Linked DNA regions of Homo sapiens: all the other regions are linked to region 3. The links are contacts of gene promoters, found by promoter capture Hi-C in human tissues and cell types (Jung and others, 2019). All regions are on one chromosome and are shown on one strand. The core of a region is centred on a gene start or on the middle of the fragment in contact, and the rest is flanking DNA. Distances in the headings are between cores, read along the strand shown. Region 1 overlaps CHST8 (carbohydrate sulfotransferase 8). Region 2 overlaps CHST8 (carbohydrate sulfotransferase 8). Region 3 holds the start of CHST8 (carbohydrate sulfotransferase 8). Region 4 has its middle 39 kb from the start of CHST8.

Region 1 (3,831 bases), core at 715-3,214, 63 kb before region 3:
GATGCCCTACCGTCCCCCAAGCCCTTCCCTCTGTGAGGACAGCACTGCACTGCAGAGTCCCAGCCCCACCGGGGCCAGCCCCAAAGCCTCAGGAGAGAGTGAGCAGCTGACAAGGCAGGCAAAGCTGTTCTCTCCAGCCTCACTCGGGGGAGCCCCAGGCAGTCATAGAAAGGAGTTAGAAGAATGGAAAAGATGTCACGCACCGACACAGGGGGGCCATGGCTCTCAGATGGGGACCAGGAAGAACCTGCAAGGTCTCTCGGGAGCAGCTGCTATTGCACGGTCATGGGGACGGTGTTCACATGTGCACCGCACCCACGGACCTAAGCAGACGCGGGTTCAATAACACACATATGCATACATGCCCGGGTGCATGCCGGCCAGTGCCTGCACACATACCATCGATGGTCCCCAGCAAGGCCCCAGCTGGAAAGCAACTGTCGCGAGCCCCTGAGTAAGCTGGCCACGGTGTGGGTGCGCTTCCTGCAGCCTCCTGAGTCAGACACCGGGAAGCCAGTTTGACCTAGGGTAGCCTCCAACATCAAGACATTTTGGAAGGAGGGAGAGAGGAAGGAGAACAGCTTCATGGCTAGCGCCCAGAACTGCCTGGTAAAACAGCTAATAATGGGTCCCTCAATATCAGGCTCTACCTGATGAACAAAGGGGACTCGGGAGCATGTGTGATCATCATCTCATTTGTTCAGTAGCTGGCGCTGCAGAGTGGTTACAAGAGAGCTGGCCGGTCCTCTCTTCTCCCCAGTCTGTCTCCATTCGAGCCAGTACCGACATCCACTGTCAAGGACTAAATGGGTCTGCAGCGAAGACCTGTCCTCACTTGTTTCTGAACCGCCCCAAACCAAACCCACCCCATGATGCCTGGCTCCAGCCACCCATGTGCCTGGGAGCCAGGGCAAGGACCAGATCCATGCCCCCAAATCCAGGAAGGGGAAGAAGACACAGACCCAGGACCACACCTCCATGGTGGTGGAGCTTCATCTGTTCACGTTTCCCCTTTCAAAGACCCTGCCTTTGCTGGCCCCCGAGAGAACACGAACACCCTCTCTCTATACCCAGGGAAGCTGGCATTGGAGCCGTCTGTGGCTTCAGGGTTTAGCCCCTAAGCCTCAGACCCCAGCTTTTCCCTCTGGGACCCTCAGCTCTGTGTTTGTTCTCACTGGGGACCATCTGACCAGCTAACTCCCTGCTCCGTGCAAACAGGAATCAAAAGGTCAGCGTGCCTCCCCTCCTGGGTAACTGGCCAGCAGTATGGCTGGCCAACTGGACTCTATAGAACACTCCTTTCCCCTAAGGTGTGGGAAGGGAGGGTGGTCACCGACAGATCCCCGGGCATTCCAGGGGGTGTAGAATCCTCTATTGTTCCTCGGAGGACCCCAGGCTTCCAAGTCGCACGTTGTTTTCAAGGCAACAGGAGCTGCTGGTCTAAGAGCTGTCTGTCTCCCTCTCCTGGGAGTCCAGCTGCTGCCTGGGGAGTGGACACCACCATCTGTCACAGGCTGGGGCCTGGAAGGCTGGGGGATGAGGCATAAACACAGTCACAGGCCTCAGCCTCCACCTGGGACTGTCCCATCCTCATCACAGACTATATCACTCTCAGCTCCGATGACAAGGGCAAAACCTGCCTTCACCTGCTTACACCCATCCCAAGACCAACAGACAATAAGAAAATCCAGCCTTCCAGGGGCAGAGAAGAGGGAGGGTTCAGGCAAGAAAAATAAACAGCCCCAGCGAGTTTCCAGCAGCTCCTGCCTGGCCTCACAATTCCTAGTCCTCCTGGTGGCTTTTCTCCCCCAGGCCTGAATGGCGTCACCAATTTTTACTTTAAGAAAAAAAAAAAAAAAGATCCAATTAATCTTATAAACCCCTCCTGGGACACAGGGCAGGGCGAAGGATTCCTCCCATTTCCTTATTTATTTGATTTAAAAATGTGTCTCTTTGAAGAAATTCACTTCAGGGCACAAGCAAGGACTTGGGAATTCAGCCAAAACACACGCACCTCCAGTGGCGACCGGCAGCAGGCGGACAGACGCATGGACGGCTCCAAGGACACGCTTGGCTGCAGCTGCTTCTGGGCCTGGACGCTCCCCTCAGCTGCCCAGAGGATTCCCTGTGGCCGTGGGGACCTGTCCCTGTGCCTGGCTCCAGGCAGCATGGGTGCACCCACGTGGTCAGCGGACCCCGGGCTCGGGAAAGTTCTCTGTCCGGTGGGTCTCCTTGCACCACACGGGCAGGAGAGAACAATGACGTCCCTCCCGGCTGAGGGCTCCCGGAGAAGCTGCTTGTTGGGAGAGAGGCTGCTATGGCAACTTGAGGAGAATGGAGCCAGGCACTGCCGTCACCTTGAATCCGGCACCGTGCCTTCTGCCGCGGTGGCAGCAGCGGGGACTCTGCACCGGGCGCTGGTCTCTGAGCCCTGGCTTCCCTCCTCAGCCTCCTGGCCTCGGGAACTCATCTGCTCGTCGCCGATCGATCGGTGGGAGCCTACAGCCCAGTCCCCCGAGAGCACCACCTCCTTCTGTTTTGTCAGACTAGTTCTTCCCTGCGCGCGGCTCTCGCTTACTTCTGAGATGGGGCTCTTCTTGATTTCAGCTCATTAAAAATCCTGCAGCTAATTAAAACCGCTCTAATGGCAGCGGCGGCGGCGGCAGCAAACTCTGGGACGAGTCCCTCCAGTTTTTATGCGTAGGCATAAAGTTGCAATGCTCTGCAAGGTTGACGGATGGGCGCGAGTGCTCAGACTCCAAGGCGGGGCTGCCGACTCTCAGGCTGCCTCCTGCCCTGCTGCTGGGGAGCGCTGGCCTGGGTCCTGAAATCCCCAGAGCCGGGCCTTGGCACACCCAGGCCCCTGCCGGGCGGCACGCTACTCCCGGGGAAGGCAATTTACCTGCTGTCCGCTGCCCTGTTACAAGGCAGGGTTCTCTCCACTCCCCCCCAGCCCCATGCTCTGCAGCGGGGAGAAAGGGCGTTCCGAGGTGGAGATTACCGGGTGAATCAGGCTCACAAGGTCCTAAAGCTTGCCACCATAGCCCTACTAGGAGCACCACAGCCCGGCCTCCCACCATCACGGACACATTCCAGTTGGAGTCTGAGGGGCGCCTGCAAACACACAGCCACAGCGAGGGGGGCCTGAGAGCGTGGCCAAAGACTGACAGGCCACGTCAACTGACCACACCCTGGACACTATCTCTGCCCAGGGCTTCTTACATGTTGAGGACATTTTATGCCAGTGGGGCAGGGCAGGGGACAGTCATTCTGCATGTAAAGAAACTGAGTCCCCTGCTCCTCCTCATCCTGGCAGAGTCTAGAATGCTGACTCAGTGCCCCGAATTCCCTGAATGTGTGAACCTTGGTTCCCTGAGAGCACCATCGCGGTGACAGCCCTTCCCTCACTGTGGGAAAAGCATTTGCCACCTGCCTCTGAATCGGGAATCGCATCGAGGCCTCTCCCCATCTTTGTATTCCCAGCACCTAGCACAGTCCCCGGCACAGGGAAGGTGATCAATAGCCTCTGCTGCACGTTGAATGAGCACGAGTTAATAGATGGAAGTGTTTGGGGCCATCTGGAGAGAGGCACTCCATGAACCTGGAATTTTAAAAAGGTCATCTATGTTTCAGGGAGCTGAGGGTTTGTTTTCCTCAGAGCTGCCTTGGAATCAGGTCCAAAGAGTAGCCCAATCCTATGACAGGAGGCAAGGAAGAAGCAAGGAAGAAACGGCCCCCAGGGAGCCCAGTGGAGCCTTAAAGCTTGAAATACCCGAGGCCCGCTCGCCACCAGGACCTCACTTTTGCCTCCTCATGTCAGTATGACAGATT
Region 2 (3,840 bases), core at 762-3,261, 43 kb before region 3:
CATCAATACCCCTCTCCTCCCACTCTCCCACCTCTCCCGGCACCCTCTTCCCTGATGCCCAGCCTCTGGGCTCCATCGGCCACCTGCCCCAGACCCTCCCACCTTCCGGTTCCTTCTCTTCTCTGCAGTGTAACTCTGCTGGTCTCCGCGTAACCCCATTCCTGGATCCGTGAGCTCTGCCTCCTTTTTGTCATCACTGTGACTCTAGAAACGCGAGGCAGACAGATTTCTCCCCGTGAGGCTGGGAGGAGGAGACAGCGGAGTCCTTGTCTGCTAGTGACTGTTTCTCTGCCACATCTATTTGCAGGGTCCACACACACACACACATGCTCACACTCAGCCTGGAGGGCTTCCACGGGCATGGAGGGGAGAAGAAAGCCCATCTTCCCTATGTGTACCCCCTGACTTTCACAGTCCTGTGGGGCATGAAGGGCTCAGTTCCAGATAAGACTGCTCCATCTCCAGCCACGTGACTAATTAGCGTGGCCTACATCGACAGGCACTAATGGGCCTTTCCTGTTGTGCAGCCAACGTTGCTTCTTTCTCAGGCCCCAAGGCACCTGCACAGACATGATCCACGAGAAAGCTGTGTGGGGCACAGCCGTTTCCGACACCCCGTCCCGGAGCCAGAGGCCTGCCTTTCGGCCTCCAGCTGCAGAGACACCACTTGTCCCCTCCCAAACCTGAGGATGTCATTTTGTCATTTGTCCACCCCAGTCTGACCTTGTCTGCTGCCTGCCCAGAGCTGGGTGGGCCACTGGGGCCCTGATCACTTTCCCGGATGCCCACTGAGTGTGAACCATGTGCAAACTCAGGCTTGAGGAAGGCCTGCCCATCCCCTCCACCCTCTACCCATCAGGAGTCACAGAGGAAGTGTTCCTTGGGGGACACTGCTCCTGGGTTCTGCGGCCCCAGCCTCACCCTGGTCCAGCAGGAAGAGGCTACAGGATTGCACTTGAGAAAAGCTTTTTTTTTTTTTCAGTTTTGAAGATACTCAAACAATCCTTTCGACATGCTAGTTCTGATTAAATGTCCAACACATTTCCATTTGCCATCTTCCTCCATTTCCATACCCATCTGTGTCTTGCAATCCATTAAACCAGTGTTCGGCAAACTGTGGCCCATGGACCACACCCTCCAGCCACCTGTTCCTGGAAATAAAGTTTTATTGGAACACAGCCACGCCTGTTCTGTATCATCTGTGGGTGCCTTCACATTATGATGGCAATTGAGTGACTTCCACAGTGACCTTTTTGTCCATGAAGCCTAGAATATTTACTCCATGGTCGTTTACGAAAAAGTCTGCTGACCTCTGGCCTAAACTACAAATATAATTCACTTATAAATAGTCTGTCTGGCATAACAGATGCTAGTAAGGATATGGAGAAAGGGGAACTCTTGTACACTGTTGGTGGGGATGTAAATTAGTACAGCCACTATGAAGAACAGTATGGAGATTCCACAAAAAAACTAAAAATAGAACTACCATATGATCCACTCCTGGGTATATATCCAAAAGAAAGGAAACCAGCGTATTACAAAGATATCTACACTCCCACGTTTATTGCGGCACTAGTCACAATAGTCAAGATGTGAAATCAACCTAAGTGCCCATCAGTGGATAAATGGATAAAGAAAATACGGTACATACACACAATGGAATAGTATTTAGCCATTAAAAAGAATGAAATCTTGTTATTTGCAGCAACATGGATGGAACTGGAGACCATTATGTCCAGTGAAATAAGCCAAGCATAGAAAGATAAATATCATTATGTTCTCACTCATACGTGGGAACCAGAAAATTGGATCTCATGAAGACAGAGACAAGATTGGCAGTAACCAGAGGCTGGGAAGGGGATGGGGCAAGATAAAGGGGGGAAAAAAGCAAATATATTCCCAACCAATTTTAGAAAACAATTTGAGATATTTAAGCACATGCATAAAAATGGCAGTATAATTTTTTTTAAATCATCTGTCAAATAACCTTTTGAGATGTCCAGTGAACTTTTTTGGGTAAGCCACTTAACATAATCACTCAAAGAAATAAAAATGAAAATCCCAAAAAACCAAACACCGCATGTTCTCACTCACAGGTGGGAATTGAACAATGAGAACACATGGACACAGGAAGGGGAACATCACACTCTGGGGCCTGTTGTGGGGAGGGGGGAGGGGGGAGGGGGGAGGGATAGCACTGGGAGATATACCTAATGCTAGATGACGAGTTAGTGGGTGCAGCGCATCAGCATGGCACGTGTATACATATGTAACTAACCTGCACATTGTGCACATGTACTCTAAAACTTAAAGTATAATAATAATAAATAAATAAATAAATAAAAAAGAAAATCCCAGAAGCTCAGGGTAAACCATATAGATTCCCAGTTCTAAATCCATATATCTCTTTAAATTACACAAGTACACAGGAATGCATTCTCACAGGAAAAAACTTCAAACAATACAGTGGAAGTGAAGATTCCTTTGAAAGTCGCCCCAATCCAGTCCACTCCGAACTGCGATCATTGGCATAATTCCTTTCAGACTTTTAGATATGAACTTACAAATATGTAAATAGAGGACATACAGTGTGGCTTTGTGTGTGTTTTTGCCATAAATGGTGTATATATGTACATATTGTGCTACGGTTTGCTTTTTTTCACTTAACAACACTGTTCAGACATCTTTCCCAGCAGTGCATATGGACCTACCTCATGCTTTTTATTTTATGTATTTATTTATTTTTTGAGATGGAGTCTTACTCTCTCACCCAGGCTGGAGTGCGGTGGCAGGATCTCGGCTCACTGCAAACTCCACCTCCCGAGTTCAAGCGATTCTCCTACCTCAGCCTCCCAAGTAGCTGGGATTACAGGCACCTGCCACCATGTCCTGCTAATTTTTGTATTTTTATAGTGACAGAGTTTCACCATGTTGGCCAGGATGGTCTCGAACTCCTGGCCTCAAGTGATCCGCCTGCCTCTGCCTCCCAAAGTGCTAGGATTACAGGCGTGAGCCACTGCACCTGGCCCCTCCTGCTTTTTAAACCTTTTTGGGGGACAGGGTCTCACTAGGTCCCCCAGGCCGGAGGCAGTGGTGCCATCACAGCTCACTGCAGCCTTGACTTCCTGGGCTCAGGTGATTCTCCCGCCTTGGCCCACTGAGTAGCTGGGACCACAGGCACGAGTCACCAGGCCCAGATAATTTTTAAGTTTTTTGTAGAGACAGGGTCTTGCTATGTTGCCCGGGCTCATTTCGAATTCCTGGGCTCAAGCAATCCTCCTGCCTCGGCCTACCAAAGTGCTGGGATTATAGGTGTGGGCCACCTGATGCTTTTTAACTAACTGTCCAGAATATTTCAAAGTGTGGGTGTTGCAAAGTCCAATCTCCATGCACACAAACATCTGAAGCATCCATAACCAGCTGTTCTTCCCAGGAAGAAGGATCCTTTGTCCAGGGGTCACTTCAGAAAGTGACTTTTCAGTGGATGGACGGCAGGCTCCGGCCACGCATCCTGTCCATTTGAAGATACCTCCACCCAGGCATATTGGAGAGTTCCTCGGTCTTCCTCTACAACACAGACACCATCACGGGGTCTTTGTGTGACCCTGAGCCTTTCCTGGCAGAGTCCCTAAGATCCATGACTCTACACGCCCCATGCAAAGCAGTCTTTGAAAGGAGAATCACTGTGAATATAAATGACTGTCTCAGAAGCTTGACTTTTAAAAAAGGAATGTGGATCTGGCCCTTGCAAATATAAAACAGATTGAGAAGCTGAGTTTTGTGGAGTGACTTAAACAGGCATTCTGAGTTGGCACCCACTGGGAGCAGTGCAGCAAAGGT
Region 3 (3,693 bases), core at 1,054-3,553:
TTATAAATGAGCCCCCACGCTGCCTGATGGATGCCTCTCGATAAATAATTAATCCTTGACCTTGCTTTAAGAAAGCCTTGACTTTTTAATTTGGGGTCTTTTTAAAAATCAATACCCGGGAAACATAATTCACTCTTGCCGAGTCTGATTCCAGGTTAATAAATAAATAAGTAAATAAATGAGCTGCACTGTTTGTGTGTCCCAGGGCGACTGGGCCAGGCAATGGGTCAGGTTCCGGCTTTGAGGTTTTTCTGTGTTCAAATGCTATTGGATAATTGATCAGCCAGTCCCACTGGAACCAACATTCAGACCCTCAAGAGGTCCCTCTCTTCAGGGTTCCAATGTTATTCCTCCCGTGGGTCACTTCACAGAGGCCAGTCTGCTGAACGCTCCTGAATGAACTCCCACGCCGCCTTCTGTGCTTGGGGTGTCCTGATTAAAATTAAAAGAGGATCTCCTGCTGGGATGAGTGTCCTTCCTGTGGCCTGTCTGCCTTGCCTTTGGGACAGGGCACAGGGTGGGCAGGAAAGGTCATGACAGCTGGAAAATGTTAAGGGCTCTGCCACACCTGCTCCACGGGTGCCCTGTCCTAGGGCAGGACTTAGGGAAAGACTTCCCCACAGGTAGGCAAGGGTCAAGGTGAACTCAGAAGAGAAAGGTTACCCAGGAAAGTGGGCTTGGTATTGTAGCTCCTGGGGGCCTTGGGCGGCGGTGGGAAATAAAAGGGGGTTGATCTGCCTCTTACCCCTCTGTCCCCCGCCCCTCTCCACCATCCACTCCAAAGCAGCTACTACCTCCCTGCACCCAACGCCTCTCCCACGTGCTCTGCTGCTGCGCCAGATCGCGCCAAGCAGATGGAGAGGGGCCGGGACGCGCGTTCCCCTTAACGGAGCTGATCACGGCTCCTGAGCCAGCGGGAGTGGCCCAGGGACGCAGAGTCCTCTGGGACGCCGGAGACGACTGCAGGACAGAGAGCCCCAGGATCGGCGCCTACTTCTGGGTTAAAACAGACAGCCGGGCAGCAGCGCCCACAGCCGAGGGCGCCGCAGCCGCTTCAACTCCGGGTCGGGGTCGCGGGCCTGGAGACAAGATGTACGCGAAAGTTAGGGCGGCGGGAGTCCCGCACTGGAGAAGGAATCGGGGTCACATCAGACCCAAGCCCCAGCATCGGGCACTGCCAAAACCCGTGATCGCCCTCCTGGCCCGGCTGGCCTCCAGCGAGGCCAGAGCGGGTCTGCAGAGTCGGTAGCCGGAGTTGCAGCCGCCGTCAGAGCTCGGCTCGGTCCCGCGGCCAAACGGATCATTTCCCCGCCCCCTGGAGCCGCCCCAGGCTCCGACTCCCGCACTCCCGACACACGCACGCACACACCTTCACACCATCGCTGACGCACGCACACTCGCCTCCAGCACTCACAGGCCGGTGCCCTGGAGAGTTGCGGGTCGGGGACGCGCGCGACGGAGCCGCTGGGTAGGAAGCCAAGGCCACTTAAACTTCCCCCATAGTCTCTGCCCGCCGCAACCCGTCCGGAGCCCCGGCTCCGAGCGCGCCAGGAAGCCCCAGCGCCCCGAGCGCTCCTGCCTGGCCCTCGGCGCTCGCTGCTCAGCGCCCGACGCCGCCTCCCCGCGGGCAGCACCGAGGGCCAGGAGGCGGAGCGGGAGTCCGCAGGGACCAAGAGGGCCCGAGGGACGGCAGTTCCCAGAAGCGCGGCAGCGAGTGAGATCCAAGGAGAGAAAGTCTAATTAAAGTTCCCGCTACCGGGGCCGGTCCCCAAAGTGCAACCAGACCCGAGCCCCGCGCGCCCACCTCCGCCCGCAGCTTCGGACTCCCATTCGCGTGCGGTGGCGGGGATGGCGAGCGGTGCAGTCCGGGGCCCGCTCGGGACCCCTTCCTGGCGTCTCTGCAGGCCAGGAGCCTGCGCAGGGCGGGAACAGGGGTGGGGCAGGGGCGCAGCCACTTACCTGGCGCAGCGGACGCACCCGAGGCCGCGGGCGCCTCCAGTCCGGGAGCGGTTCTCCGCGGCGGATCCTCTGCTTGGGGCGCGCAGGCGGCGGAGAGGACCTCCGACCCAGCTCGGGCCCGGTGCCTCCGCCCGCTCCAAGCGGAACCCAGTGCGATCTGTGGGCGAGCAGCGTGGGGCCGGCAGCCGGAGCGTGCGGGGAGCGAGAGGGCGCGGGGCGGCGTTCCTCTTCGGCCCCCGGCGCGATCGGTCCCCCACCTCCTGCTGCCGCCGCCGCCTCGTCCTCTCTCCTCCCCGCAGCACTGCCGGATCCGGCTTGCGCGCCGGGAAGGCTCCCAGCGAAGTGAGAGCGAAGCCTCCGGCGAGGCTGGAAATAGCGCCGCGCCCGCCCGGCGCCCCGCCCCCGGCCCGTGCCCCGCCCCGCCGTGGTGGCGGCTACGGCGGTGGCCGGGCCGGGCGGGGATCGCTCCAGCGATGCACTCGGCCCTCCCGGGGGCTCGCGGGCGCCGCGCCCACGCGCGCTCTGCGGCTCCCGCGGCCCCTCTGGCAGCGCTCTCAGAAAGAGTCGCTGCTGGGCGCGGTCCGGCGGCCGCGGGGGTGGGAGCGGTCGTGGCTGGGGCTGCGCCGGTCTCCCGGTTCAGGAGAGCCGGACTCCGGCCTGACGCTAGGCTCCAGACCGCGGCCAGTGCTGCCACTGCCTCGGTGGGTCGCACGCGGCGCCAACCCGGGAAAAGGACCAGGCGTCACCGGGGCGGGCCTTGACCACAGCGGGGCAGGGGCGCGCGCCCAGGACCCGATGCTGCGGGGGCGCAGGGCCGGTGAAAGGCGGAAGATTGATCCTGAGGAAGATTCTGGGATATCCCTGGGCTTCAGCTCGCGTGGAATTCGGTCAAGGCCGCGAGCTGCCTCAGGCCCGGGTGTCCGCATCCATCCTCAAATCCCTGGGGCTCTAGATTCTGCTGAAAGTGCCCTGCGAACAGGTGCTCCCTTCAGGACTTCATCCTGGAAGTTTGTGTCGGGTCACCAGCCTGAGAGCGGGGCCAACCGACCCTCTTCATACACACTCGGGAAAACAGCGTGGAGGGTGGAACCGGCCCACGGCCACACAGCACCGGGACAGAGTAGGGACAGGAACACGGGGCCCTGGATTCGGGTCCTTGTTCTTCCTAAGAAGAGGCAGCCCCAGCCTGCAGGGGACAAGCAGGCCTTGGGAAGGGGGGCAACTGCTTTCTCACAGGAGCTGGAGGAAACTGTGCACACAGTCACCTGTTAGTCTTGAAGGGACACTCAGTATTTTCAAACAACAGCAGAGAAGCCTTTAATAAAGTGAAAGACCCTTACTCTCTCCTCTCTAATGGTACCTGCTGGCTGGTTGGCCTGACTCCTACCAGCTGACCTAGAGTGAGTGATGGAATTGGGGAGTGAGCTGGGCCCATGGGTCTTGACTGACCAGAGTGGGGGACACCAGGCGGAGAGCAGAGCCACTCCTGGGGACGGCCAGGGAGCCCCTCAGCCCCAGGGCCATGAGGCCTCCTTAATGCCCCAGGTAAGCTCAGAGCATCCAAAAATAGACCAGGACAGATAAGAAGATAAATAGAAGCATGACAAAGAGATCATGGTCTTCCTTTAATTCTTGCAGCAACAGAGTAGACATTATCACTCCCGTATTACAGATGAGCGAATTGAGATGCAAAAATGCCACCATTTTGCTGGACTCCACGCATCTGGAGAATGG
Region 4 (3,823 bases), core at 37-2,536, 39 kb after region 3:
CAAGCCCCCCAGGCTTGAATGTGTGTATATATGTTGGCGCTGTCTGGACTCCATTTTTTTCTCTTGTTGAGAGAAGTGTCTTGGGTGGGGTTCCCTAGAGAAGCCTGAGATCGACATTCATGGGCAAATGAGTTATAAAGCAGGGGTTCTTAAGCCCCAGGCCATGGACTAGTACTGGTTCATGGCCTCAGCAGGAGGTGAGTGGCAGGTGAGTGAACATTATTGCCTGAGCTCTGCCTCCTGTCAAATCAGCGGTGGCATTAGATTCTCATAGGAGTGTGAACTCTTTTGTGAACTGTGCATGTGAGGGATCTAGGCTGCATGCTTCTTATAAGAATCTAACTAATGCCTGAGGATCTAAGGTGAAACAGACTTATCCCCAATCCATCCCTGATCTCCCCTCCCCCACCATCCACGGAAAAATTGTCTTCCATGAAACTAGTCCCTGATGCTAGAAAGGTAGGGGGGATCAGGCCAGGGAAGAGTAAGAAGTCAATCAAGATTGGGATCTCAGGCAAAGTCCGGCTGTCCTCACCTTGAGGCAATGGAGCTGGGCTTTCCTACTCCTGCACCTGTCAGTCATTGACTAAGCACTGCCCAGGCTCTCATCAGCTTCCAGGAACTTAAGACTCTCTGCACCTGTGGGCAGGGCAGCTCCCTAACCCTGGGTGATCTTCTGAGGAGTGGCAGGTACAGATGGTGGAATCCAGGGCAGAGGTGCCCAGTATGGAACAGGGCATCGAAGAGGAGCCACAGTGTCTATTACAAAGGGAGTCTGCTGCCCAAGGGCTGAGCTAGGGAAGGCCTATGGGGCCAGACCCATGAGACGGCCAGACCTGTGAAAGTCAGGACTCTGAGTTTGCAGTGAAAATTCCAAGAGGATGCAAGCCCGTGCCCCCTGTGCTCACAGCCACCTGGCCCCAGAGCCCAAAGGCATCTTAGGCTGAGTTCTCTGGAAGCAGCTGAGGTGGAGAGTTTGGGGCAGGAGGTTTACACTGATGGCTCTCAGGAGAGACCCCCTATAGGGAAGCGGGGAGGGCGAGGGTGGGCAGAGAGGGAAGGCGACCCCCCAGTGCAGTTACAGCTAGGCCTCAGCCAGGCCTGGGGGAGCCCTGGAGCTGGACACGCCTTCAGAGTTGCCCCAAACTGAGGTGAGGGGCAGGGCTTTGTACTCCCACATCAGCCAGTCGCTGGATACAGGATCACCCCACAGGAGGCATAAACTTAGGAAAGGTGCTTCCCGGGTGCCAAGGGAATTCCCAGGGAAGAAGGCAGGGATATTCCCAGCTCCCATGGGGATAATGGCCATGATGGTTAATTTTAGGCATCAACTTGTCTGGATTAAGGGACACCTAGACGGCTGGGAGAGCATTATTTCTGGTTGTGTCTGAGAGGGTGTTTCCAGAGGAGACTGGTATGTGAGTCAATGGACTGAGTTGGGAAGATCCGCCCTCAATGTGGGTGGGTACCACCAATTGGCTGGGGGCCTGGATAGCACGAAAAGGCAGAGGAAAGGTGAATTCACTCTCTTTCCTGGAGCAGACACATCCCTACTGTCCTGCCCTGAGACATCAGAACTCCAGGTTCTCCAGGCTTTGAACTGTAGGACTTGCACCAGTGGCCCCCAGCCCAGGTTCTCAGACCTTCAGCCTCGGACTGAGAGTTATACCACCAGCTTTCCTGGTTCTGAGGCTTTCAGACTTGGAGTGAGTCACACTCCCAACATACCCGGGTCTCCAGCTGGCAGGTGGCTGAGGATGGGAAACCTCAGCCTCCATAACCACGAGACAATTCCCCTAAAAAATCTCATGTAGATAATAGATACATACGTACATACATACAGATCTTTTGTAGAGATGGGGGTCTCACTGTGTTGCCCAGGCTGGTCTTGAACCTGGGCTCAAACGATTCTCCCACTTTGGCCTTCCAAAGTGCTGGGATTATAAGTGTGAGCCACTGTGCCTGACTTCTGTTATCTCTCTCTCTCTCTCATGTGTGTTTATCTATCTATCTATCTATCTATCTATCTATCTATCTATCTATCTATCATCTATCTATCATCATCTATCTATCTGTTGGCTCTGTCTCCTTGGAGAACCCCGACCAGCATAGTGGCATCAGCCCCTGGAGAGGAGATCTGGGTGGAGCAACACAGTGTCCACTATTGGGGAATTGAGAAGTCCCTTCTTGGGGCTCCTGGCTGCAGTGACTCTCCAAATAGAGGGGCTGATGGGAGGCCCAGGGAGCCACAGGTCCAAGGCCATCAGGATGGGTCCACCTCCAAAGAGGACATAACCTCTTCTGGAGCCCTGGGGTGAGGGGATTGGTGGGCTTTGGGGGATCTGGCAGAACTGCCTATGGGAGAGACAGCAGAGAAGACTGTCTTAGTCCATTTTGTGTTGCTGTAACAGAATACCACAGACTGGGTAATTTATAATGAACAGGAATTTATTGGTTCGTGGTTCTGAAGGCTGGGAAGTTCAAGATCAACAAGGTCAGCATCTCATAAGAGCCTTCTTGCTGCTTCACAATATGGCTAAAGGGCAAAGAGAGGGTGAGAGGGGGAGACAGTGAGAGTAAGAGAGGGCCAGATTCCCCCTGTGTGACAAACCCACTTCTTCGATAACAGTGTTAGTCCTTTGACTCTGCCATCATGGCCTTATCACCTCTCTTTGGGCCTCACCTCTCAACACTTAGATTGAGGATCAAGTTTCCAACATTTTGCTTTTTGGGAGACACATTCAGGTCATTGCAGATATGTTCAGAAACCTGGCAAGGGGAGCATTAAAGGTTGAAGGTGAGGCCCTGGCTGGGGGGCACTCCAGCCTGGGGCCTGTCTCCCCACAGTTCTGCTGTAGGAGGAGATGTGGTTTGACAAGGTAGTCAGCAGGCCTGAATGAGGCGGACTTTGGTGGATCATCTGTACCTCTGTGGATTGAGCAGGCTATGGGTGGCGGGGAGTATGCCACGAGTCTTTTTCTAGCTCCTGGATAAGGGGAAACAGAGCGAGGAGCCCAGGATGACTAGACCTGGCTGGGCTTGGAGATAAGGAGGTGCCTCAAGGGCAGGGAGTTTGTGTCTAGAGGGCTGCACGGCACAGACCCCAGCCCAGTCACCTCAACTGCCATTGCTTTGAAATCAATTATCCAGGAAGGAGGAGTGGCAGAGGTGCATGGGCAGCTGGGGAGCGCTGGGTCTGTGAAAGACAGTATCATCCACACCCATTTAAGTTTTGTTTGTTTGTTTGTTTGTTTGTTTGTTTAAGACAGGGTCTGGCTATGTTGCCCAGGCTGGTCTTGAACTCCTAGCCTGAAGCCATCCAACCACCTCCGCTTCTCAAAGCACTGGGATTATCGTAGGGAGTGGTGGCTCCCAGCCCACCTCACTTTGCAGATGAGAAAACTGAGGTTATGGCCAAGGAGTTTCCCAGGAGCCCAGGGAGACCATGGTGGAAAATAGCACCTCTGAATGCCCTGCAGGCCATCTTGGGACAGGGTGTGGCACTCAGGGAGAGCTGTGACTCCTGCACAGCTCAGGGTATGCATAGAGCCAGCTAAGGGTGGAGTGGACAATGGGGGTAGCCCCACGCAGTGGCCACTTCCCCACCCTGCCCAGTCCTCTCAAGAGGATGTGGCTTTGGGTCTGGTTGCCAGGATACGGCACGGCCATGCCGAAGCATCCCTGGAAAGCCTGTTTCCCTGAAACACCCCCAACCAGAGCCGGGGCGGAAGGGCCAAGCCTCTTTATGAGCTGAGCAGACGGTTCTTAACACATTGTCCTCAGCAAGCTGGACAGACAGAGACATGTGGGCAGCTCAGCTGCA

The links. Contacts are between HindIII fragments. The study calls those that stand out against the background at their distance.
Region 1: a contact is called between a fragment that was not itself captured here and the fragment with the promoter of CHST8 in region 3, in 7 of the 25 tissues and cell types used here (H1 embryonic stem cells, dorsolateral prefrontal cortex, neural progenitor cells and 4 more).
Region 2: a fragment that was not itself captured here is called in contact with the fragment with the promoter of CHST8 in region 3 in 3 of the 25 tissues and cell types used here (H1 embryonic stem cells, dorsolateral prefrontal cortex and spleen).
Region 4: a fragment that was not itself captured here is called in contact with the fragment with the promoter of CHST8 in region 3 in 9 of the 25 tissues and cell types used here (H1 embryonic stem cells, bladder, dorsolateral prefrontal cortex and 6 more).

What each region holds. Positions count from the first base shown.
Region 1 is chr19:33,683,383-33,687,213 of GRCh38, reverse strand. The region is part of intron 2 of CHST8 (carbohydrate sulfotransferase 8); the gene reads right to left. Among named protein-coding and RNA genes, the nearest start is that of CHST8, 63 kb to the right of the region's middle. The HindIII fragment of the contact is 7,407 bases long and covers 1-3,831 here.
Region 2 is chr19:33,662,777-33,666,616 of GRCh38, reverse strand. The region is part of intron 1 of CHST8 (carbohydrate sulfotransferase 8); the gene reads right to left. Among named protein-coding and RNA genes, the nearest start is that of CHST8, 43 kb to the right of the region's middle. The HindIII fragment of the contact is 6,325 bases long and covers 1-3,840 here.
Region 3 is chr19:33,620,563-33,624,255 of GRCh38, reverse strand. CHST8 (carbohydrate sulfotransferase 8) reads right to left here and starts at 2,303. Exons shown (of 5, transcript NM_001127895.2): 1 at 1,960-2,303. RefSeq lists an enhancer at 2,598-3,342. The HindIII fragment of the contact is 24,734 bases long and covers 1-3,693 here.
Region 4 is chr19:33,580,725-33,584,547 of GRCh38, reverse strand. No RefSeq gene overlaps it. Among named protein-coding and RNA genes, the nearest start is that of CHST8, 39 kb to the left of the region's middle. RefSeq lists an enhancer at 982-1,483. The HindIII fragment of the contact is 3,433 bases long and covers 1-3,002 here.